4 separate regions of the Homo sapiens genome follow, and regions 2, 3 and 4 are each linked to region 1. The links are contacts of gene promoters, found by promoter capture Hi-C in human tissues and cell types (Jung and others, 2019). All regions are on one chromosome and are shown on one strand. The core of a region is centred on a gene start or on the middle of the fragment in contact, and the rest is flanking DNA. Distances in the headings are between cores, read along the strand shown. Region 1 holds the start of FOXRED2 (FAD dependent oxidoreductase domain containing 2). Region 2 has its middle 17 kb from the start of APOL4. Region 3 holds the start of APOL4 (apolipoprotein L4). Region 4 overlaps APOL2 (apolipoprotein L2).

Evidence for each region. Contacts are between HindIII fragments. The study calls those that stand out against the background at their distance.
Region 2: a fragment that was not itself captured here is called in contact with the fragment with the promoter of FOXRED2 in region 1 in 3 of the 25 tissues and cell types used here (lymphoblastoid cells, mesenchymal stem cells and thymus).
Region 3: a contact is called between the fragment with the promoter of APOL4 here and the fragment with the promoter of FOXRED2 in region 1, in 9 of the 25 tissues and cell types used here (IMR-90 fibroblasts, adrenal gland, aorta and 6 more).
Region 4: a fragment that was not itself captured here is called in contact with the fragment with the promoter of FOXRED2 in region 1 in 2 of the 25 tissues and cell types used here (bladder and spleen).

What each region holds. Positions count from the first base shown.
Region 1 is chr22:36,504,735-36,511,014 of GRCh38, forward strand. It overlaps FOXRED2 (FAD dependent oxidoreductase domain containing 2), which reads right to left and starts at 2,306. Exons shown (of 9, transcript NM_001102371.2): 1 at 2,275-2,306; 2 at 1,162-1,689; 3 at 1-32. The coding sequence starts at 1,688. It overlaps EIF3D (eukaryotic translation initiation factor 3 subunit D), which reads right to left. Exons shown (of 15, transcript NM_003753.4): 15 at 6,121-6,266. The coding sequence ends at 6,253. RefSeq lists a silencer at 2,053-2,552. The HindIII fragment of the contact is 18,149 bases long and covers 1-6,280 here.
Region 2 is chr22:36,182,107-36,188,386 of GRCh38, forward strand. No RefSeq gene overlaps it. Among named protein-coding and RNA genes, the nearest start is that of APOL4, 17 kb to the right of the region's middle. The HindIII fragment of the contact is 4,893 bases long and covers 845-5,737 here.
Region 3 is chr22:36,199,597-36,205,876 of GRCh38, forward strand. It overlaps APOL4 (apolipoprotein L4), which reads right to left and starts at 2,213. Exons shown (of 4, transcript NM_001386885.1): 1 at 2,104-2,213. The coding sequence starts at 2,138. RefSeq lists an enhancer at 2,189-2,688. The HindIII fragment of the contact is 28,208 bases long and covers 1-6,280 here.
Region 4 is chr22:36,225,174-36,231,453 of GRCh38, forward strand. APOL2 (apolipoprotein L2) reads right to left here. Exons shown (of 5, transcript NM_030882.4): 4 at 6,167-6,280; 5 at 1,036-3,107. The coding sequence ends at 2,231. Among named protein-coding and RNA genes, the nearest start is that of APOL2, 11 kb to the right of the region's middle. RefSeq lists an enhancer at 1,990-2,668. The HindIII fragment of the contact is 3,547 bases long and covers 878-4,424 here.

The DNA of each region.
Region 1 (6,280 bases), core at 1,056-3,555:
GGACTGATAAACCAGTGGCTACAAAGAGGACGCTGCAGGCGGGGACAGAGGAAAGATGGCTTAGTCTCTTAGCTATAAGACCACTAAGTGAAAACCACTCCCTGGACCCACCCACCCACCTGCCTGGCTCCAACCGCCGGCCCCTAAAAGAAAATAGGACATTCATTCATTCATTTTTCATTCATTCATCTGTTTACGCCCTCATCCCAGTGCACTTGAGAGGCTCTGCCCTTGCCTCTCCCTGAGCTCACAGTATTTTCCCTAGCACTGTACTGGGGGTTAAATTTGCCCTGTGAGAGAGGAGAAGATGACAGTATGAGAAATGGAGAATTCACCTAACTTTGCACATAGCAGTCAGACCAGGTATGACTGCTGGTGATGAAATGAAACCTGACATTCTACTTTCCCCTTTCTGAGTCCTCTGACAGATACATCTATCCACTGAGCAGTAATTCTGTACCAGGCCCTGTACTAAGTGTATCTGTGCACCATCTTTCTGACTCCTCCAAGCAACCTGGAGGTGGTATGTGGCCTGCTTTACAGGTGAGGAGGCACAGGCCCTGCAGGCCCATGGCTTGAGAGCTCCTAAAAGCAGCAGAGCCAGAGTCTAAACACAGATAGGCTTGATTCCAAAGTCCTGCTCCTTCCATTGGTGAGGATCGCCATCCAGGGGAGGGCAGCTGGGGACTTGGATCCTGCCGGCTTGCAGAAGAATGCTTTGATCACAGAGTGGTTTCAAAAATAGAATTGAAGGCCGGGTGCGGTGGCTCATACCTGTAATCCCAGCATTTGGGGAGGCTGAGGTGGGTGGATCTCCTGAGGTCAGGAGTTCGAGACCAGCCTGGCCAACGTCGTGAAATCTCATCTCCACCAAAAATATAAAAAAATTAGCCGGGTGTGGTGGTGCTTGCCTGTAATCCCAGCTACTGGGGAGGCTGAGGCAGGAGAATCGCTTGAACTAGAGAGGCGGAGGTTGCAGTGAGCTGACCTCGTGCCATTGCACTCCAGCCTGGGCGACAGAGTGAGACTCCGTCTTAAAAAAAAAAAAAAGCGAAATACCCTTTTTCGTCCATTCCTCCCATACCTACTGGCCAATCAAGGTGTGTGGTTCGTGTGGGGAAGGTCCCAGCTTCCGCAGGTGAGCTCTGGCACCGGCCTTACCTGCACTGATGCACCTGGCCCTTCTGGTCAGTTAGGATGAAGTAGTGGCCATTCCAGGCCTGTCGGTCCTTGTCCAGAGTGACGTGGGCGATGGTGGTGTTGTACTGGACACGGAGCCCCAGCGTGTCCGCGAAGTCACCCAGGTAGCGCACCATGTCGCGGGCGTCGGGGAAGTAGGCACGCGAGTAGTGTCTGAAGAGCAGCCGGGGGTCGTGGCTGAGCAGAGAGTTCCAGTCGTGGCGGAGGTTGAACTCGGCGTTAGCCTTGCCCGTGTACCGCTTGTTGATGCTGATGAGCTTGCGGTGCCGCGGGTAGCGTGTGAAGAAGCTGCCGGGCCGCGGGGCCCGCTCGAACACTGCGTAGTCGCGTCCAGCGCGCTGCAGGAAGTAGGCCATCTGCAGGCCCGCGGGCCCAGCGCCCAGCACGCAGTAGTCCCGGCGCGGGGGCACCGACAGCGCTGGGTGCAGGGCGATGGCCAGGAGCAGCCCCGGGGGACCCCACAACGGGGCCGCAGCGGAGAGGCCCATCCTGCAGCAGATCAGAGGGGTAAGGCCTCGCACCCGGCCCGGCGGCTGGGAGACACGAGGCCCAGAAAGAGGCGGGGCCTGCGGGAACTCTCACTGCAATCTGGGTCACGGCCAGGCCCAGAAGCCGTCCTCAGAGCTCATTTGCCCGGACTCCACCGTTTCAAGCTGGGACTTGGGGCTCCCCGGAATCCCGAGCCCCTCCATCTTATCTCCCTCAGGGTCTCCTTCCTCAGGGGCACCGGCTCCCCGCTTATGATTGTAGTAACCTCCACCCTGGGGAAGGAGAGCGTACTCCCCAATTTTCCCCTAATTTGAGGGTGCCCAACACCCCTTTGAACCACCCTCCAGGTTGGACCTTCCAGAGGCCTTGGCCCCTCTCCAGCGACCGGGTGGGAGCCTGAAGTGGGTGTGGCCTGCGTGCGCCCCGCCCCCTGCCAGGGTCCGCGCGCCCCAGGCTCTTCGGCCACGTGACAGGGATGCCGCGCACACCTGCCGCCCGCCCGCGTGCGCTTCAGGAGCCGCCAGGTCCCTACGCCCGCAGCTCCGGCCTCCCCGCCTCCGACCGAACCCTGAGAAACGCGCGAACCTCCCAGCCGCTCCGGCTGCAACCCGTGGTCTAATGAGGCCGCGCTTGGCTCGCTTGCTCCGCGGCGGCTCCGCCCCTCGCGCCCGGACCAATGGCAGGGGGCGGGGTCACGTGCGCGGCGCGCGGCACGCCGGGACCAGCTGGCAGGCTGCCTGCTCCGGCCCAGCGCGGGAGAGGCGCGCGCGTGCTGCGTTCGCTGCTCCGGGGGCTGGTAGAGGGGCCTGGGGCTAGCGCGCACCCGCGAGGGTGGAAGGTCTGGAGATCCGGGATGGGGAACTGGGTCCTTCGTTTTAAAAGGTGCCTCTCTACACGGAGGGAGGGGAGCACGTGATTTTTGGAGCTAATCCTAGCTCTCATATTCCATGAATGTAGCCAAACGCTAAAACTAGTTGGCCTACCCAGTTTTGTGGGACTGGAAACCAGCGTGGTGGAGCCAGGACCGATAAGCCAATTAACAAGCGTTTGCTACAGTGACTCAGTGTACTGCTTACCAAGTAACATACACGACTGTCCTAATCTTCCACCAAATAGGAGAGGTGGGCAAGGCATTGTTTCCGACATTTGGTAGCTGACTGGTCAAATGGAGACATAGGGATGAAGGGATATGTTTACAATCACAGGAAGTGGAGCCTGGAATTAAAACTCAGTGGAGGCAAGATAAATGGCAGGAGGAAGATAACGTGAACTGGATGATGAAGGTTGGCTTCCCAGGGGTGGCAAGTGGCCCCTGCATGAGATTTACATGGGGAGAAATACGAAGTCAGTGTAGGAACCTTCAAAGTCCAGTGAAATGGGGCTGAGTGTTCTTGGGGGAAGGGCAGGTGGAAAGAACTGCGAGCCTGCAGATTTGCATGGCTGGAGATTCTTTGAATTAAAAATCGTAGCTGGGGACTCCTTAGAAAAATTTTCCTGACCTCTCAGGCCTACAAGTACCTACCAAAGAATGTCATTTACTTTTTCTTTTTTTTTTTTTTTTGAGATGGAGTCTCACTCTGTCGCCCAGGCTGGAGTGCAGTGGCGTGATCTCGGCTCACTGCAAGCTCCACCTCCCAGGTTCACGCCATTTTTCTGCCCCAGCCTCCCTAGTAGCTGGGACTACAGGTGCCCGCCACCACACCCGGCTAATTTTTTGTATTTTTAGTAGAGACAGGGTTTCACTGTGTTAGCCAGGATGGTCTCGATCTCCTGACCTCGTGATCCGCCCGCCTCGGCCTCCCAAAGTGCTGGGATTACAGGCGTGAGCCACCGCGCCTGGCCGAATGTCATTTACTTTCTTCAGTCTGTGTCAACATCAGAGAAAAGCTCCCTCAGAGCAGAAATTGTCCAGTATCTGACATACGGAAGTTTAAGCATTTGTTGAATAAGCATTGCAACCAGAGAGGTCAGGCAGAATACTTTGCCAAAAATAAAGTAGGGATGTCTTATTTCTTCTTTTTGAGACAGAGTCTCACTGTCACCCAGGCTGGAGTGCAGTGACACAATCATGGCTCACTGCAGCCCTGACCTTCCAGGCTCAAGCGATCCTGCTTCAGCCTCCCAAAGTGCTAGGGATTACAAGTGTGTGCCATGGCCCCTGGCCAATTTTTCAAAAAAATTTTTGGGGGCATATGTGTATATATTTATGGGGCATATGAGATGTTTTGATAGTCATGCAATTTGGGGATGTCTGTTTCTTAGTGGTTGTGAAGATTATGAGAATGGGTGCTGGCAAACAAGTTCCTAAAATAATTGCTGGTCTTATGTGGTGAATACAGTAGTGGGAAATTAAACAGAATTCGTCAAGTATGGTAGGGCCCTACGAGTAGGCTGAACCTAGATTGTAAGCAACAGGATGCTACTGGGAGTTTCTGAATGTAGGATTACTGCAGCAGTCAACTTGGTAGCCCCATGCAGGACAGATAAAAGCAGTGGACAGCTACTCGGGAGGCTGAGGCAGGAGAATGGCGTGAACCCAGGAGGCGGAGCTTACAGTGCCTGAGATTGCGCCACTGCACTCCAGCCTGGGCAACAGAGCAAGACTCCGTCTCAAAAAAAAAAAAAAAAAAAAAAAAGGCAGTGGAAACTGATGCAAAGTATTTTCAGGGAATGAGCTTGAGTCACTTCCACTTGCTTCTGTTAATCCTGTTGGACAGGGCCATGGTTTGCAAGAGGCAATTTGGTGAATACTGGTCCAACCTGGAAACCCCCGGCACTAGTCACACCACTTTAATCTGTTTTTTAACACTCTGTATTCACATTGAAAACTCCCCAAGTACACTTTTTCTCTCCACTGCTTCTAACACAGTTCAAGAAACCTTTTGCTTGCTGAGGTTCGATTCATTAAAATTAATTTTGTGTTTTTTCAAGCTACTTTAAAAAAAAAACCTGTAACTTTAGAAATGCTGAGCTTTTTTTGAGAGTCTCTGTAATCCAAATTGGAGTGCAGTGGTGTGATCTCAGTTCACTGCAACCTCCGCCTCCTGGGTTCGAGTGAATCTCCAGCCTCAGCCTCCCAAGTAGCTGGAATTACAGGCGTGTGCCACCATGCCTGGCTGTTTTGTATTTTTAGTAGAGACGGGGTTTTGCTATGTTGCTCAGGCTGGTTTTGAACTCCTGACCTCAAGTGATCCACCCACCTCGGCCTCCCAAAGTGCTGGGATTACAGGCATGAGCCACTGCACCTGGCCTTTTTTTTTTTGATAAAGGGTCTCCTTCTGTCACTTAGGCTGGAGTGCAGTGGTGTGATCATAGCTCACTGCAGCCTTGAACTCCTGGGCTCAAGCAATCCTCCCACCTCAGCCTCCTGAGTAGCTGGGACCACAGGTGGAAGCATCATGACTGGCTAATAATTTATTTTTTTGCAGAGACAGGCCCTGGTCTCCCTGTGTTGCCCAGGCTGGTCTCAAACTTCTAGGCTAAAGTGATCCTTCTGCCTCAGCCTCTCAAAGTGTTGGGATTAGAGGTTTGAGCCACCATGCCTGTTTCCTCACCTCTACAATGGTACTACTCCTGCCAGCATCACAGTTCTGTATGAGGCTTAGATACTACAGAAAGCTCAGCATTAATACCTGGCAGGGTAATTACTCCATCAAGTGTCCAGAACAGAACAGTGTCCACTTACATAGTTTACATAGCCTCGGCTGGGTGCGGTGGCTCACGCCTGTAATCTCAGCACTTTGGGAGGCCAAGGCGGGTAGATCACCTGAGGTCAGGAGTTCGAGACCATCCTGACCCATATGGCGAAACCCCGTCTCTACTAAAAATACAAAAATTAGCCAGGCATGGTGGTGCATGCCTGTAATCCCAGCTACTGGGGGGCTGAGGCAGGAGGATCGCTTGAACCTGGGAGGTGGAGGTTGCAGTGAGCCGAGATCATGCTACTGCACTCCAGCCTGGGCAACAAAGTGAGATTCCGTCTCAAAAAAAAAAAAAAAAAAAAAAAAAGTTTACATATCCTCAACATGCAGAGCTCTTATGACACAATGCTTTGTAGGGACAGGCCTGAGTGTCACCAGCCCAAGCCAAGCTTAAAAACAATTCATAAACCATTACACAATCACCCAGTGGGACATCCATCAAGCTCTCTGTGGCAGCCTCCCTCAGGCGCAGCAGCCCCACCTCACCCACACCCTGCTTCACGCTGTACTAGTGCTCTGCACTCCAGCTCCTCACAGTGAACTCTCCAAAAGCAACAGGTGGCCCTTCACACAGCCAGCAGGCACTCATGCTTGTGGAAATGGACTTCTTATAACAAATGAGGACACCCAGATTCTGAATTCCACATAGAAATTGCTGAATCTCATCCCCACTCTGTCAGGAATCTTTGAAGAAACGACTGTAAATCGTTAATGCAGGCAGACGATGAGGGAAAGACTAAACAGATATATATTTTATTTCATCTGCTAAATGTCAGAGAGCAAGTTAGACACACATTCCACTAAGCATCAAAGGCCCTCGTAGTCTCGGTGGAAGGACAAACTCCAGCTCCACATCACTGGTTTAAGTTTCTTCCTCTGAAAGACACAAA
Region 2 (6,280 bases), core at 2,041-4,540, 320 kb before region 1:
GCAGGATAGGTCACTTCAGACAAATGCCTGGCTTTGACATTTTTCCTGAAGGCGTCTGATAAATTGTGGCTGTTGATATTTTTGGCTGACTTTCCTATGAAAAGCAAATTCTGTAGGTTTCTGGTTACATGATAAATTTCGTCCTCGCCAGATCTTCTAAGCGCACATGAGGGCCCTGATAGGGAGAGAGTGGTGTGTTAGCTCCTCCCCTGCTGTAACAAAGCACCACAGACACAGTGGCTCAAACCAACACGAAGTTCTTCTGGAGCTCAGAAGTCCTAAAATCAAGGTGTGGGCAGAGCTGCGTTCCTTCTGGAGGCTCTGGAAGAAGAAGCCATTCCATTGCCTCTTCCAGCTCTTGGAGGAAACTGCTGGCCTTGGCTCCTGTCTCCTTCCTTCCTCTTCAAAGTCAGCCTTGTAGCATCCTCCGATCTCTCCCAGTCTCTCTCCCCTTCTATCATCTCATCTCCTTTTCTCCCTCTCACCCTACTGTCTCTGCCTTAGAAGGACCCTTGTGGTTACATTGGACCCACTTAAAGAATCCCAAATAATCTCCCATCTCCAGATCCTTATCTGGACGATAACTGCAAGGTCCCTTTTATGATGGAAGGTGATATAATCGCAAGTCCCAGGGTTAGGACATGCACATCTGTAGGGGGCTGTTATTCAGCCTAAAACAAGTTGCATCAAGAAAATTACGATGGGGATATCAAGGAGTTTGAAGAATCCCAACTCGTAGCCATGTCTAAGGGCTTTTCTGAGGTACAGGCCCCGCTAGAGGAAGCTGCTCCAACTCTGTTCCTGTCTGCTCCTGCCCCACTCTCTGTTTCTAGACAGCCTGCGTTCAAGTCATTGTGGCCCAAGACTGAACTGCAGAATGGAAAGGAGTGAGGCGCTGCAGCAGAAGGAGCTCGCTGTCAAAGCTCCAAAGAGCCGGAGACCATTTGCAGGGTGGGGTCTGAGGGAGGTTGGCAAGGAAAGGGGAGCATCATGTGGATTCCTTTCCATAGTTGTCATGAGCTAACACACTTCGCCCCAACAGCTGGCTTAGATTCTAATTGTGCCCAGGACTGGCCATGCAACCCTTGAGTAAATGCTGGCCACCTCTCTATGACACCAAAAGGCCAGAAATTACCTGGCATGATAAAGAAGAAGGAGTCAAGTGTATAGGAGACCGGAGGGTTAGACTGGATTTCTCAGGCGCTTTCTGCCCTGACTGTGTGCTGCCAGGGCCCAGGAGATTCCCCTTTCCTTTGATGAGAAGAATCAGTGGATATTCTCTAGAGCTCTCTAGAATGGGGGAGGGGCTAGGACCCTGGTCTCTTTAGGGTGGGAGAAATTCCAAGAGGCAAACCCTAGGGTGAGGCAGGTGGTGGCCAGAAGAAAAGAGTGTGGACACCAGGTCAAGAAGCAGGGAGGGCGCATGATCTGGGCTCAGGGACGTTCCACATGCAGAATCCAGCAACAGAGCTGGTGGACAGTCTACTGACTTCGCAAAACCCCCAGTCTGGTGAGCAGGCACCTGTCACAGGTCATCATGCTGGATGGCCCCTGCTTGTCACTCAATTCTCAGGCCTGACTCATAGCACAGACCCAGAGCCCTTGAAGGAAAGGGAGGCCAGGAGTCTGCAAAAGGCCCCGTCATTTCCCATAAGTGCAGCCTGTGAGCGTTCCTCCTACCTGTTCTCCCTGGACCTGGAGCGTCCCCTCAGATCACAGGGGACGGCTTAAAGGAAACCCATCCCCAGGACTGTTGGATCCCATCCAGACTGACACCAATTCCTGGGACCCATAATGACCCAGAGTGCCACTGTGGTGTTCCAGTCAGAGGGGGGGTTACAGGGAACAAGTAATGAATGAATATCTGATTTCAGTTTACTTTTCAATAAGTCTATCACCTGGTTATTATTTTTTAAATTCCTGGGTGGATAACTGGAATGCATATTCTTGGAAGCTTCAGATTGTTCACGTAGACCCACGGATGATGACTATTTCAGTGACAGACGCCGGTGGAAGCCGTTGGTTTTACATACCTGCCTAAATATTTTAATCAGAGTCAACAGCAAATTCATGGAGGAGTTAGAGAGATTGCTGCCATCATCAAGGTTTAAAGGGAGCAGAAGCAGTGATTCCTGTGACTCACCTGTTCACCTCTTCAATGCAGCCAGTCGTCAGCAGGGAAACAACTGTTTGTCTTCCAACAGCAGAACAAAGCAGGAAGCTCATCAGTAGAAGCTGCCATTCCTAAGGTGTTCTTGTTAATGAAGCAAATAAACACAGCCTGCAGCTCTCAGTCTCTATCAATCAGGCTTCTTGGTCAAGCAGAGGTACCATCTCTGGTTTTTAAGGGCAGAAAACAACATGAAATTCACTGGAATCATATCAGAAGAGCCCCACCTGCAGAGGAGGCTGGAGTTTGGCTTGGAAGATAAAAAGAAGCCAAGACAGTGACACGGTATCAAGGCTGCGAGCACAAGAGCCCTGCTTTGTGAGGAGTGACACGGCCACAGCGCTGCCCCGCCACCTGCGGACATCATCTCTGCAGGTGCAGGACTCGGTCGCCCTCTTCTCTATTCTCCTCCTGGGCAGTCCTGCTGCTCTCACTGAGAATGGGTTCTAAGCACCCTGGGCTTTGCCTCACTTGCTCCAGTTTCAGAATCCCATGTGGAAGCAGCCAATTAGCCAGCCTAGCTCTTGGACAGGAGCCCTGGATGCCAGAGTGGGGGTAGGGAGTGGGAGAATCTACTTGCCTTAGAATCACAGAGGGAAATGGGCCCAGCCTCTCTCTATGACTACACATGCTGGCAAACGCCCAAAGTAGGAAGAGGAAAATAGATGCGGAAGAGTTCCCTGCTGTGAAACAAGTTTGTTCCATCTCTTGGTTCTAAATATTGACATCTTTGATTGTACAAGGCAGACCCCTAACTCTAATTTGTGAAAACTAAATAGAGATACATAACTCACAGACCATGAGGGCTGAATGCAGGTGCTTACACTGAGTTATGAGTACTCAACATCTCTCAAATTCTGCTGTGCTTTCCTCCTGGCCCACCTGCTCCCACCAGGCCTGGCCTGCTGTGGAACACCTCTCAGGGATGGTTCCTGAAGAGCAGTGGAGCACACCTCACAGTCCAGGCTGCCTGGAAGGAGAGGTGTCCTCGGGAAGGATCTGCCTTGTTTGCTGGGTAACAGTTGAGGATTTGGCTGTAAGTTCAGCATTTTAGAAGGAATACGTCTGGAGGCTTGGTGACAAAGATATTTAGGGAAGAGGTATACAGATAAAGATTTTAGAATGAGCCCAGAGCAAAAAAAAGAAAGAGAAAAAAACTACCCCTGTCCCATGTGAATACTGACTAGAAAGTCTCCACTCTCAAGAGACTCATATACAGGGAAGAAGTCACTTTTGTGGCTGCAAGTCTCCTCTGTTCCCAGGGCGGCCCGGTATTTTCAGAATGGGCTCCATAACCAGGTGCGTGATGTGGAGCTCGGTGTAACCACGCAACACGGATCCCTCCTCAAGGCTGAGCACTTGGCATCGTCCAGTGAATCTCAACCCCGGAAGTCACAGCCTTAGAGAGCATGGAAATGGCCCGAAGGGGACTCAGTTCCATGTCAGAGGCTGGGAACTGCCTTTAGGATGTGCTATGTTTTGAATTCATACCCAAAATTTACCTCATTTCCTGTGATAGCCAGAATTTATGGAGCTGGACAGTAAGAGGTTAAGATGAGGGTGATAGCTCTATGGTTACAAACAATAAGTCACTTTCAAAAATCTTGTTTACAATACCCCTAACTCAGAGACTTTTAAGTCTAGAAGTTTCAGTATCTAAGGTGGGAATGCCTCCTGCAAGGCTGACAAAAGTGGTTTCAGAGGTGCCCATAGCTGGCTTCTCATGCTCCCTGATGTAGGGATAGCAATGACGTCACTGGGTTAGATATAATCATGGATCATGATCATCCAGGGAAGCTCATGTTGTTACTACACAGCAGGACATGAGGAATCGAGGGATCCCCTAGGATTGCTCCTTGTAATACTCTAACAAGTTGTAAAGGTGAATAGGAAATTTCACCACCTTACTGAGGCCAGACCATCAAGGAGCTTAGACCCCACAAGAATGACTTCGCCCATAAGTAAGAGGAACATTGAGTGGAACAGTCAAAGACTTGTGACGGTGGCAGCAATGGTCAGTGGTGGTTGTAGCCTTGACCGCACCTCTCTGTTTCCTACAAATATACACACAGAAAATGCTGAGATAGGAGCTGCCAATGGACCAAGAGAAAAATTGACAGTGTGCCGAGGCCTTCCTCCTGTGACATAACTTCAGCATGCAGAAGAGGGCGATGGTGTGTGTGGCTCTCTTTGGAGAAGAAGCAAGTGCATTTGTCTTTGTCGTTCGGATGGCTGGATTCATAACAGGTAAAGAGAGTTTTTTGTTTGTTTTTCGAGACGGAGTTTCGCTCTTTCACCAGGCTGGACTGCAGTGGCGTGATCTCAGCTCGCTGCAAGCTCTGCCTCCCGGATTCAAGCAATTCTCCTGCTTCAGCCTCCTGAGTAGCTGGGATTACAGGCATGTATCACCATGCCTGGCTAATTTTTGTATTTTTAGTAGAGACGGGGTTTCATCATGTTGGCCATGCTGGTCTTGAACTCCTGAACTCAAATGATCCGCCCGCTGCAACCACGCGAAGTGCTGGGATTACAGGCGTGAGCCACTGTGCCCAGTCGAAAAGGGTTCTTTTTGTTTGTATGAGAAGAAGGGTACGTGTGTGTGGTAGCAAGCAGTTGACTATATACAATAAGCACAAATTCAGGTGACTGTTTGGCCAGAGGCTTCCCATTAGGGTTTGTGTCTCTGTTACTCATCGCTGTTCCTGATACCATAGCCTGACTGATTGGTTCAAGAACAGTCACTGACCCAAGCTATCCTCTCATTTGAGAATGTGAAACTTTAATCAGAGACACTAGGAATCAAAGTGTGTGGAGCTAAGCCAGGTGCAGGCAGAGCCCTGAAAGGGCAAACCATATATTCCTGATGTTGGTAATGGTCTGCTCCTGTCCTTCCAAATTCTGTAGATTTTGTTCTTCCTTCCATCCTCTGACCTGCTCTAGTTTTCATCCAATGAATCTTCTATTTTGTTTAAGACAGATAGTTTCTGTTTCTGTTGCTTGCAATTGAAAAATTTTTAAACAATACTAGCAGTACAGTGGAATTGCATCAAATGCAGGTAGCCTGATGGCATTTCAACTCTAAGTGTCAGGGCAAATGCTGGCTGGATCACTGAAGAAGTAAATTACTCAGTGCCAGAAACATTCAAAGCTTAAGTGAAATGTATGAAAAGAATGGGAATTATCCAGGAATTGATGAACAATTGACAGACAAATGAAACACAATGTTCTGGCGTTAGGCAAGTCGGTGGCCGTTGCTCTGTTGACTTCTTCAGGAAGAAATAGATGAATCAACTGAAGGTCAGGGAAGCCTTGGCTGATGGAGAGTTACAGGGACTGAGGCAAGTGTTCTGCAGGATGCTACATAAAAAAGGACTAAGTAGGCCCTGGGTGCACTTTACGAGTGACTTAGGAGAGGTTCTGGGGTGATTTTGTGCATTCTGTATCTCTTGCCCCTGCTCTGGGCTCCAGCTGAGGCGCCCAGCAGTTCTATATTCTATGCATGGAAATACAGATAATTAATGTCCACTGGGGCAAGGCCATGGGGGACAGGAGCAGTGGTTACAGGCCTCCCTCTCTCCTCCCTGTAGAGGAACATTCTGAAGACGCTCCTTGAAGACTCCTCAGGAGGTCTCCAGTCGCCCACATGGGTGACCCTATCAAGAATTTCTCCCGGCATCAGCCTTCTGTCCTTCTCTGTGTCACTCCTCCCAGTACCCCAGTCCTGCTCCTAGAATCACTTCCCAAACAAATCCTCTGCCTGGGAGCCTTGCCTAGGGCTCTCCCTTCAGGGGAACTCAGGCCACAGCAGCCTACATTAGACAGCATGAAGGCTCTGGGCTTTTGTGCTAAGAGTAATAGGAAGCCATTGAAGACATGGAAGCCGGTGTTTGATGAAATCTGTGTTTTTATGGGTCAACTTGGCCCAATGTGGAGGAAGAGCTGGCCTAGCGGCAAGGGCTGTGTATCAGCGAAGACCATTTTGGAAGCTTTTGCAGGAGTCTGGGCGAAGTGAGAAGGCTGACTGGATGAGGGTGTTTGCAGACTGGATGAGGGTATTTGCTGTCTGGCTGTCTCTCTCTGTCCCTCTATGTCTCATGGATTTTCCTTCAA
Region 3 (6,280 bases), core at 963-3,462, 310 kb before region 1:
AGTCCGCTTGTCCTGTTGGAGAATGAGGAGAAGATAATCAGAGGAGGGGCAGCCATCTGATCATTACAGAAACTACACAGTCTATACGCAGAAATAGAGATGGGAAGGAACGTTCTAACAATGACCGGAAACATGTGTGACAACTAATTGATGATAGCCAGTCTGTATTGAGTGTCTGTGATGTGCAGGGCTTCTTTTTTTATTTTTATTTTTATTTATTTATATTTTTTGAGACGGAGTCTCGCTCTGTCGTCCAGGTGGAGTGCAGTGGCGCGATCTCGGCTCACTGCAAGCGCCGCCTCCCAGGTTCACGCCATTCTCTTGCCTCAGCCTCTCGAGTAGCTGGGACTACAGGTGCCCGTCGCCACATTCGGCTAATTTTTTGTATTTTCAGTAGAGAAGGGGTTTCACCGTGTTAGCCAGGATGGTCTCGATCTCCTGACCTCATGATCAGCCCGTCTCGGCCTCCCAAAGTGCTGGGATTACAGGCGTGAGCGGTCGCGCCGGGCCTGTGATGTGCAGGGCTTCTGACATGTGTCTCATTCAATGATCACACACAGCCCGGGAGATGGGTACCACTTTCCCATTTGAACACAGAGGAATCCACAAAAGTTAGGGAACTTGCCAGTGTTTTCTATTGCTAGAGCCAGGACTTCTGCTTCAACCTCATGTCTTCAATGACTGTGCTCTACTCCCTTAAATATACAATATTGAGTCATGTATACACGCTCATGGTAAATGACTCCTCATTGCAAATCCATGTCTCACACTCCGTGCTCAACTTTTCGTCTTGGTGAATTCACTGGTGCTGCAGTGGACAGCCTGTGTCCCCCTTGCTTCTCTAAGATCCTTTGTCCCACAAAGACCTGGATCCTGCCAGATGCCGGCCTAGCCCCTGCTGTGGCTGCCGAGCCCTCCTGGCGCTGCCCTGTTCCCTCTGCTGTCCTCCCCTAGCTGATGGACCTTAGGGTGTTTCTAATTCTTCATGTAAATTATGCTACAAAGAACACCCTCCTTCACGTAAAACTGCCCACATTTGATTTTATTTCCTTAAGATATTTGTAGGAGTAGAATGACTAGGTCAGAGGGTATCAACATCTCAAAATGTTTTATACCTAGAGCCACACTACATGCAAATTGTACCAATTCACACTCAAACTAGCAGTATATGAAGATGCCCATTCTTTCAGTCTTACTGGCTCTCAGTAGTCTCTTTATCAGGACAAAAAATATATACACAACATGTAAATTTGAGAACTAAATATCTTGTTATCAATACCAATTAGTACAAACTTTAAGGCACGAAGGTAGCAGTTGAGATGTGAAGCACTGAACAAAGGAGAAGGAGGATTAATATTGTCATTTTTTAAAGATGGAAGTTAAGAAATACTGGGTACAACTGAGGGTATAAGAAAGTTGTAAGTAAATTGTTTACAGCTACAAAGTTGCTAATGGAAGACATAAAACTGGTGATAGAATGTTAGGAAAAGGTGGAGAGGAGAGATAGAGGGAGGGTACAAATAAGATGAAAATGACTAATAATGATACTATAAATAATAACAATACCATTTCAGGCCCATCCCAGTTAGGGGCGGCTCCAAGCATTACCATTGTTCTTTTCTCACCGTGTGTCTCTGCGCACTCCCTGGCACACCCACTTCCAGCAGCTGGTCTTTGTTTGCAGACTTTATTTTAACAGCTCAGTGGTTCCCGGGCCCCCTGATGGGGTTCCATCCTCCAGCTCTCATACTAAAGCCCCCTCCTCAAAAGCCACTCGCCTCCCTCTTTCCCTTTCCTGCCTTTGTCTCAGGGTTCAGACACACAGATGTCTGTCTTCTGGGGCCCCCATGCAACAAGGGTAAAAGGGGGACCCAGTCCTGGGCAGCATTCACCAGGGGAGTATGCAGAGGGGCGTCTGGGCGCTTCTTGCTGTAAGGGACAGGGGTGACAGGAGAGGGGCATCCCTTCGCCTTCTTCCTGCTTTGTTCACTGTGTGACCCCCTAGGCCAAGGCAACCATCTCAACACCATGAGCCAGTAGAACTGGGAGGACCAGGAGAGAGCAGAGGAGCAGGAGGGCAGAGAGCTGGGGCCTCGGACTCACCCGACGCTTGTGATGAGCTGCACCCAGGATCCCATCCTCCTTGGTCATTGTTGGCCTGGCTCAGACGCTGATCTGGGGCCTCTGCTGAATGTTGAGGCTGGATACTGACTGTTAGCCTCAACTAGGACACAGTGCGTCCCCTCTAGGCGAGTCTACCAGTTGGTCAATTCCGGGAAGTGATTTTGGTTCCTAGAAAAACCCACATGGCTCCTGGCCCAGCCCAAGCCCTGCCCAATTGTGCAGCCCAGACAGGGAGCCCTCCCTCCCACCTCAGGGCTCTGAGCCAAGCTCACCAGATGCAGACGACAAAGATTTTCAGCAAAGCAGCTCCCTCCATGTCGCTGCGGGGCCTCCTCCTTGGGCAGGAAAAGAGGGGTTGAGACAGTGTGCTCCTCCTGAGAAATCACCATTTTCATTTCATTTTTAATAAACCGTTTTGCTGTGTCACCCAGGCTGCAGGGCTTTGACGCCATCCTAGCTCATTGCTGCCTAGATCTGCTGGGCTCAAGTGATCTTCCTCCTTCAACCTTCTGAGTAGCTGGGACTACAGGTGCACGCTACCATGCTGGGCTAATTTGTTAATTTTTGATTTCATAGAGACAGCATCTCCTGTGTTTCTCAGGCTGTCTTGAACTCCTGGCCTCAAGTGATCTTCCCGCCTCTGCCTCCCACAGCACTGGGATTACAGGCTTCAGCTATAGTGCTTTCTATCTTGATGGGCATCTCTTTTTGGTGAAGAAAAATCAGGCCGGGAGCGGTGGCTCACGCCTGTAATCCCAGCACTTTGGGAGGCCGAGGCAGGCAGATCACAAGGTCAGGAGATGGAGACCATCCTGGCTAACATGGTGAAACCCCATCTCTACTAAAAATACAAAAATTAGCCGAGTGTAGTGGCGGGCGCCTGTAGTCCCAGCTACTCGGGAGGCTGAGGCAGGAGAATGGTGTGAACCCGGGAGGCGGAGCTTGCAGTGAGCAGAGATTGCGCCACTGCACTCCAGCCTGGGCAACAGAGCGAGACTCCATCTCAGAAAAAAGAAAAAAAAAAAAAGAAAAAGAAAAATAAGACCACGACTCAGATTTCACAGAAATTACCCCCCTGATTTCATGGACTTTTGGCAGCTCTATCAGGTTTCTGAGAGGGGAAAATCTTAGGCTGGGAGGGGAGGTGACTTGCCCAGAGTCGCACAGCTCTTGGAGAGCAGACGGGAAGCCAACATCTGCCCTTGTGACTCTGCTATTGAAGAAAAACGGGTGATTTTAGTAATCCAACAGTGTCCAGGTTTGATTCTGCTTCTACAAACACAGAGATCTAAGCTCTCACTCCTGTAGTTACACTCACAATTCCACAGGTGGCTTTTGAATCTCATGATTACAAAGCTGGCGTCATGCCACAGGCACCATTCTGCAATGCGACCTTCTCACTCCCCTGTCTCAGCCATGTTTCCTATTGCGGGATCTGGCCAGCAGCCCCCAGTGCAACGGGGCTCTCTCTTTGCTCCTAGGCGGATCGGCAGGTTGAGAAATAATAGACACACACAAGATAGTGAAAGCTGGGTCCAGGGGGGTCACCGCCTTCTGGTCAACAATGCACTGGATATACCAGCATTTATTATTCAGTTTAGTGAGGGCGGGGGTAGGTTAGTGAGGGATTTAGGGTCATTTGATTACGAGGTGGGATGGTCACATGGGGATGAAGTAATTCTTTAACATAACATTCGTATGTAGAAGTACAGTGCATTTGTATGTAGAAGTACAGTATACAGAGATAAGAATTTACAATATAGTGTGTGCGTCAGTAATTTCTAACAGAGCCTTAAAACAGAAACACAATCTTTCCATAACCTATGATTAGCAAGATATTAATCAGCAGTAACAATTGCAACAAAAGCTGGTTACTGACAATCCATGGAAACAGGACGTGAAGCTAGATAACCGGTTAGACTAGAAATTCTCAGAAGGGAGTATACCTGAACCCTAAAGATGCCTAGAAGAGCCACGGCAAGATGATAGCATTTATAGCCCTAGCTTGTCCATATGGACAGGCGCCCCCCTGCATCCATTCATAGGCTCTCTGCAGGGGGAAGCACATCACGTGCTGTTGGTTCGTTCTGGCAGTCCAACCTGGCATTGTCTTTACACAATCCTGCATGCAATTTTGTATTTACAATAATCAGGAGCATTTCATCTTTTATTCCGTAGCAATAGTTTCAGGGGGTCTCCCTACAGTTTCCCATTAGGGACACAGCACAGCCTGTTTCTTCTCCATCACCCCAGAGGTCTGAACAGAGGGACAGAGGTGAGGGCCACAGACATGGAGTCCTATGATCTACCTGCTCAGCCTCCTGACACTGGACCCTGGGCAAGTCACTCCCCTCCCAGGGCCTCAGTTTCCCCACAGGGCCTGGCACAAGTAGGTGCTCAGACTCAGGGTGGGTGAGATGACCTCTAGGTTCCTTGTATCTCAAAAGAAATCTCTTGCCTCATCAGGCCTCAGCAGCCGCACCCCGGGGCCAGCCTGGTTGTGGCCAGACCATAAGGACAGACCGGGCTCCAGGTCACCTCCCCACCTCCACCTTCTTTGATTCCTTCAAATTTCCCAAAGAGATGGGCACCCCCAACACAAACCTTCCTTCTGGGGTCACCTGGCCATGTCTCAGCAGTCTAAAACAGAGCTGAGCCCAGAGAGCTTTGTGAACCCATCTGAGCTATTTCCCCACCTCTCTCTACGGTTTAAGGGCCCAGCAGGAGGGAGGGAGCAATCAGACTCAAGCCTGGGTGCAAATCCCGGCTCTACCACTGCTTTCCTGTCTGATCTGAACGAGTTACCTAACCTCTCCGAGCTTATCTACAAAAGCTGAATGATCCTTCCCTCATAGAGCTATTGCGAGAATAAGGAGATGGAGGGAGGTCACACCATCCCCAACTTACCAAGGGATCTTCCTCTGACAGAGACTGAGCAAGATCCAGCTGGTCTGAGCTGTGTGGATCTCACCTCCAGCTGTGCACCTATATAATAACCAGACACGTCCTCCAGCCCCCAAGATATACCCAGGAATTCGAAAGGTAAAATGAAAGTCACAACTTCCCAGCAGCTCACAATCAAGCACAGCAAACACGCTGCTCCCCAGCACCTCCTGCAGTCCAGCCCCACCCTCCTTGCTGCTGCGCTTAGAGGAGCAGCCTGAGACCAGACCTCCAGGTCTCTTTCATCCAACCCACCTGCCTGGCATCCTCGGGGTTGGGGGTCTGCTATAGTCTTCAGGAAGAAAGACCTGCCACTGACATACTGTGGGACCCTTCAGATTACTCCCCGTCCTCCCGTGCTTCCACATTCCCCTGATGCCTGCCTTACTCCTGCCCATACCATCAGCATTTGCACAGTCTCCTACACATGCCAAGTGGATCCTTATTGTATATTTATTGTAAGGCCATTGGGGTTATTTTGGTTTTGTTCTGGAGACAGGGTCTCACTCTGTAGCCAAGGCTGAAGTGCACCGCCACAGTCATAGTGCACTGCAGTTTCAAACCCCTGGGCTCAAGCCATCCTCCCACCTGAGCCTCCTGAGTAGCTGTTTCTACAGGCATCAGCCAACCACCCAGCTAATTTTTAAAAAAGTTATATTAGAGATGGTGTCTCACTATATTGACTGGGCTACTCTTGAACTCCAGGCCTCAAGTGATCCTCCCACCTTGGCATGAGCCACCGCACCAGGCCTGCTCTTGTTGAAGGCCATGGCTTGTGGCTTCTAGATATTTGCTTATGTGGGGTCTTCTGCCGGGATCCCCTGCTTCCACCACCTGGAAAAATCATGCTCATCGTTCAGTGACAAAATCAGGCATTGCCTCCTGTCAGAGATCCCCCAGCATCCTCCCAAGCAGAGGCCACTGCCCCGTGTTCCACTCCCGAGGCACACAGGGTGGAGGGACTAGAGACCACTGCTCAGCCACACTTCTATGGCTAAGAAGTCATGCAACCAGATTGCTATTGGACTTTTGTGCTTTGCCCCAGGCAGAAGGGCCTCAAAGACAGCTGAACCTCAGAAGCCAACCTGACCCTTCCATGGGGGCCTATTTCATCCTGAGCAAACATCGCTGGGGGCATCGTGGCCACCTCCCCCCACCCATACGCACACACACCAGCTTTTGAGACAGGAACAGAAAGGTGATTACACAGGGA
Region 4 (6,280 bases), core at 1,401-3,900, 280 kb before region 1:
AGGTCCAAGATGTGGTGAGCCATGATTGTGCCACGGTTTGCCAGCCTTGCAACAGAGTGAGAGTATCTGAAAAAAAAAAAGAAACTATATTGTTAAAGCCCAACCTGGCCCAGTGTGGAGCATGGTCCAGGACATGGGAGGGACAGGGGCAGGGGCACAGAGAAGACCATTCTGGAAGTTCTTGCAGGAGTCTGGGCAAAACGTGAGGACAGACTGGATGGGAGTGTTTGCTGTCTGGATGTCTCTCTTTGTCCCTCTATTTTTCGCTGATCCTCTCCCAATCTGCACACAGGCCCCTCTGACACTAGTTAGCCTCGAGTGTCCCGTGTCAATCCCGGGCTCTGACTCACAGATGGAAACCACACCTGTGCTCAGCCAGAGCCAGACATGTACAAGCTTTCCCCGAGTGCCCCAATGGGCTTGGGGTTTTGAGGTCTCAGGGAAATGACCAGCTGGGAAAGTGAGAGTCCAGTGAGCGAGCAGAAGGGGTCTTGAAACTTCGCTCCCTGAGACCCTGGAAGAAGGATCATGAGGAAGGTTAAGTCAGGCACCCAGAGCCCAGGGGAGCCTCCATCGGCACCACAAAGTCACAGCCATCAGTCAGTGCTGATTGACTCAAGTCTCCAGAACACAAGATGGGGAGAGCAAGGTGGACCTGAGATATCACCTTTTCCAGCCCCCTTCTACAGCTGATGAGGAAACTGAGGCTCAGAGGGGTGAAGTCTCATGACCACAAGCAGGGTTGAACTCCTGGACACACCTCAAGCTTCCTTGACCTGTTCCTGGCATCTCCTTTCATTTTTCCTTTCTTCCCAAATTAACCTCTTTCCAACACAGCACTTCAAGTTCCCCTGGAACTTCATCGGTCCATCGGTGTCCCCTGGTCTGGAAGAGCACCGACCACTTGCCAAGGCCCCCACCACTCTGCTGCCATCACAACCACCATCACCACCATTACGAGAAAAACTTGAGACTGATGGCCCCCAAAGCTTAGAAGGAGCTGAGAGACCAAAGAATGACTCGAACAAGTCCAGCTTGGTGAGTAGGTGAGTTTATTGGGACTTACACACAGGTCAATCCTGGGCAGCGACAGGACAGCTCTAGAGATCTGTGCTTCCTCCCAATGCTAAACTGCTTTCATGCTAATCTTCTGACTGTTTACTTACCGGCTAAGAGCGATGGGACTGTTTTCATTGGTTGGTTCTCAGATACTCTCTGGGAAGTTTGGGTTCTCAGGGACACCTGCTCCTCAGCTGGGGATTGTGGCCATGGCCTACCACCTGCCTCTCAGGGTTCAAGCAGGGGACATGCACCCTTTAGTAACCTGGAGGGGACCCGTCACATGACAACCACCCCAACCACCATCATGAAGAAGCCACTGGCTGACTGTGATACACCCCCAGAAGGACAAGGGAGAGTGGATGCTGGAAAGACAGAGCGAGAGACCATCACCAGGGAAAGACTTTATTCTTGGAAGGACATCAAACCTGGGGGGGGGTCGGTAGTGGAGCTGCTGTTTCTTCTCCTGTATCCAACAGTTCTAACTCTGGTTTTCTCCATTTTCAGCTCTTTCTTTTCCTGGCCTTCTCATTGCTGGTTCCTGCAAGCTCCCCCTCTATTCTTCGCCCAATATATTCTTTAGTCCAAAGTAAACTACTTCTTCCCATTCCCCACACTCTCCAGTCCTCTCTCCTCCCTTATTGCAGGCTCCAGTGTTCCTGCCTTCTCCTTGGTGCACTTGCCATCTGCATTAACCCCTCCCTTGCTGTGCTCAGCTACACAAATGCCAAAGTCACTAACACTCAGTTCCATAAGCTTTACCTTGCCCTCCTTATCCCCCTAATAAAATGTCTGCATTTTGGCCAGGCGCGGTGGCTCACGCCTGTAATCCCAGCACTTTGGGAGGCCGAGGTGGGCAGATCACGAGGTCAGGAGATGGAGACCATCGTGGCTAACACAGTGAAACCCCGTCTCCAGTGAAAATACAAAAAAATTAGCCGGGCGTGGTGGCAGGTGCCTGTAGTCCCAGCTACTCGGGAGACTGAGGCCGGAGAATGGTGTGAACCCGGGAGGCGGAGTTTGCAGTGAGCCGAGATTGAGCCACTGCACTCCATCCTGGGCGATAGAGCGAGACTCCATCTCAAAAAAAAAAAAAAAAAAAAAAAAAAGTCTGCATTTTGTCCTGGCCTGTGCCCGGCATTTCTGCCCTGGTGGCTGCACTGCTCTGGGGTCATTGGTCTTGGCCTGGCTGCAGCATCTCATGGATCTTGGTGAGAAAGTTGAGCTTCCCCTCCAGCTCCTGAGCCCGCTTCTTCAGCTCCTCAGCTGACTCTGACTTTGCCCCCTCAAGCAAGTGCTTTGACTCATATGCAAGGCTGACCACATCCAGCAGAAGCAAGATGCCTCCAGTGGCTGCACCCACGATCATGGTTCCTCTGCTCATTGCCTGGGCGGGGCCTTCAACAACCCTCTCAACCTGTTCACCGCCTTCAGCTGAGATTCGCCCAATGACATGCGGGGGTGGGGCATACGCTCCTAACTGAGGGTTGGCTCTGGCTCGTCTGATGGCACGGATGTTCCTCCCAATCCCTTGTGTGACTTGGTACCAATTGTCAACTAAGGTAAGAACATTGGGTGTGTTCCCACCCACAAACTCCTTCATCACCTTTGCTACATTGGTGCCGCTTTGGTCCAAGTTGCGGGCTTGGGCTCGTGCCCGCAATTTGTTTACTAGTTCTACCACACTGCAGGTAATCCCAGCCACAGCAGCTGCTGCTCCCAGACCCATGCCAGTGTCCAAGAGCACAAAACTGATTCCTTCTGTGAAGGGTGCCAGACCCAGGCCGAGGAGGGTCAGGATGCCAGAGGTAGTGCCAACAGAGTTGGACACCACATTGGCAATGGTGGTGCCTCTGTGGACCTGCTCAACCTCCTCTGCAAGGGCACGGAGCTTCCTTATGTGATCCTCAAGCTCCCTTTTCAACCGAGGAAACTCTTTCAAAAACCACTGCCTGTGCTGCTGGTCTTTATCGTGGCGGTTTTTGTCCTTCATGACCATGTGACTTGCAAGCTTGTTCAGAGCTTTACGGAGCTCATCTGCCTCATCCCTGCACAAGGAAAGGTTAAAGGATTAAGAAATGCAGTTTCCCTATCTGTGAAATGAGCTCCATGCGATCTCTATCCTGTGTAAATTGCAGAGCTTTCACTATCAATCAAATAGAAACAAATTTTACAAATGGAATTAATTATCTTTCAAACTCAAACACATTTTGTTCATCATAGATATTCCTCAGTACTTATTCCATATGGAAATAAATATCTTAAAGGCACCTCAGATGCTCTTTCATGGTAGGTGTTTGATAAAGATGCCTCCTCACTCAAGGGCAGGTCAACACCGTGACTGCCAAAGTGTTTGGAGAGGGAAAACTCTGCAGATGAACAAAGAGCAGTGAGAGTGAGACAAAGAGACCTTATTACCAGGATGGCAGGAAAGTGAAGCATGAACTTTACCCAAAGAGAGGCCTTCCCTTTGTCCTCAGCTCCTGGGAAGTGATCTCCAGGCCCCTGGAATGTCCTGCCTGGTAGGAACATCTTTCTTTGCCTGGTGATTTGGCCACGGGACAGTATAGCGATGTGATGGATGATAGGGTTTGGGGCTATTTGGTGTCTTTCCTGACTTCCAGAGGACTTGGGGACTAAAGGTGTGAGATCTCAGGGAAGGGCTGGAGACTCTAGCCATGAGGGCAGCTTGTGATCCAGCCCCAGCAGATACTCTGGACACTAAGGCATGGGTTGAGAAAGAAGGACTTTCTCCTTGACCAACTCCAGCTGGGCTCTTCAGAGCTTCTTCTCCACTAGGCGCCGACCTTGGCCTTCCACACTCACCCACTGCTTTCTGGACTTGCACCACCTTGGCTCAGCAAGAATCTCCCCAAATCAGTTTAGGGAGGGTCCTCCCCGCTTGCTGTCTGAGCACCGTTTGTTATCTGATCATGCTCCTCACCCCCACCACTGGTGGTTGAGGGTCTGACCTGCCTTTGGCGAGAATCCTGTTAGGCCAGTTTAGCAGGAACCCCCCACTCTGGCGTCTCCTGTCAGTCCTGTTCCATCTCCCGCCCCCACCCTGGTGTTGGCTGTGACTCCCCCTCTGTCTTTACTATATTTGGAGCTGGGCTCAGTCTCCCTCCCCTGTAACAACAATCCTGAATAAAGGCTTCATTTCTGGTTTAATGTGATTCACAGGAATTTTTCCTTAACTGGGTGAGCTTCCCTGGTTGGCAACACCGCATGTGTTTTGTCCCACATTCACACAGGAGAACACAGCCTCCTGAGGACAATGAAGATTCACACCTGAAATCCTCCCAGACTCTGCCCTGTGTGTCTCTTCCTTAGGCTGATTTTAATCTGTGTTCTTTCCCTGTGATAAACCACAATCGTGCAATAGCAGTTTTCAGTGAGTTACGTGAGTCCTTCTAGTGAATTATAAAATCTAAGGATGATTTTAGGAATCCCCATAGATTTGCAGGTGGTGTCAAAGGTAAGGGTGCCCTCAGACATTGCAGTCTGGCTATCTCTGAGTACTTTGAATTCAAACAAAAACAAAACCTCAGAAAGACAGGAGATCACTTTGCCTGGCATCTGCTCCCTTCCAATGCCTCATGCCCTTTCACCTGGCTGAAGGCTACTGGGTGCGGCCACTGCCCCAGCTGACTGGAGTGGGAGATCTGGCTATTCATTCTGGCTCCACATGGACGCTCCAGCCACCTTACTGCCTCCTGACCTACCACCTGCACCCCCAACCTTCCAGGTCTCACTCGCAGGTGTCACCAGCCTAACTGATGCCTTAGCAGTGACAGCTTCACCTGTGTGCACAGCAAGGCCATGTGCAATTTTATGGAACCACTAGAAGACTCAAGACACTTTCAGAACCATCTATATAAATTGCTAATGCTGAAAAGACCTGAATTTGGTCAAGATGGTAGAGGAAGTGTTTTCCTCCTCGGTTGGGACTTTGTGAGTCTGCTCAGTACCCCTGAAATTACACAAATTGGCAGCAACTCATTCTACTTTGGAAATGGTCACTAAGGCATGCCATGGTAAGGAGCTTCTCTGTGTAGAAGAGAAGAAGGTCTGAAAGGGTAGTCCAGAACTCACCAGTTCCAAGGCATGGGGTGAGAGACACAGGCTACCATGACCCTGTATGCCCATGAGTGTTGGGATCATCCAGACAGGGAAGAAATATCCCTCTCCCACTCACATGTCCTCTGCAAGTTCATGACCTCCTTAAGTTTCAAGCCCTTGGTGCCTCTCTTTCCACACCCTAGTCCCAGCCCTGGTGCCCCAGCCTTCCTGCTTGTCCTACCAAACCAAGGCTGACTCTTACTCCATCCTGACTCCAGGCTCTGACACTGGTCCCGGTCTCTCTGGGCCTTTGAGCAGGATCTTAGTCCTTGGTTCCCCACCTTTGACCTGGAGTTGCCTCTAAGGCCTTCACCACACTCCTATGACATTGAATTGCTATTCCTATTGGACAGAAGACAGTTCCAAGTCTCCATGACATAAGCCCAGAGCCCAGGAACTAGGCCTCTCAGGATCCTGGACCAGCAGAAGGGTCCTGCTGTGTTTGTGGAATTCTTCAGATGAGAAAAAAGGCCCCAGCCAGCATCCCCAGGAACACATATTGTTTAGGTTAGGATTTTTCTGACTTTTCCCAAAGGAAGTCCTGCTGGGCTCCCATCTTCAAGAAGAAGATCCTTAACCCTGGTCTCTTTCCACCAAGCTTGTAAGATGTTAACGTTAACTGTGCACCTACTATGTGTCAGTCATTATGCTAAGCACTTTACATGCATGATCTCATTTTTCTCATAATAAAACTCCATTGATGAAGAAAGGCTGAAAGTGAGAAAGTAACTGGCAAAGTTCCCATCACCAGCAGATGGCAGAAATGACCCTGTTCCTGTGGGCTTCCTATCCCCTCAGCCTGAGGCTACTCACTGCCAGCGAAGGACATGGAGGAAATATTCCTCCTGGAGTGCCGAGAAGGTCATCCTCAAGCCCAGCAGAGGGGGCTGCCTGGAGGAGGTGTGCCTGTCAGGGACAACCAGCCCAGGGGAGATCTGAGTGGCATCGCTGGGGCGCCCCATGGAGTTAACCCCATGGAGCTTACCTGGGCAGTTCAGCAGCAGCCACGAATCCATTCCAGGCTTCATCATCAGTCAGCAGTTGTAGCAGATTCTCTCTGCTCACTTGGTCCTGGAAATACTTAAGGTAATCCTCAATA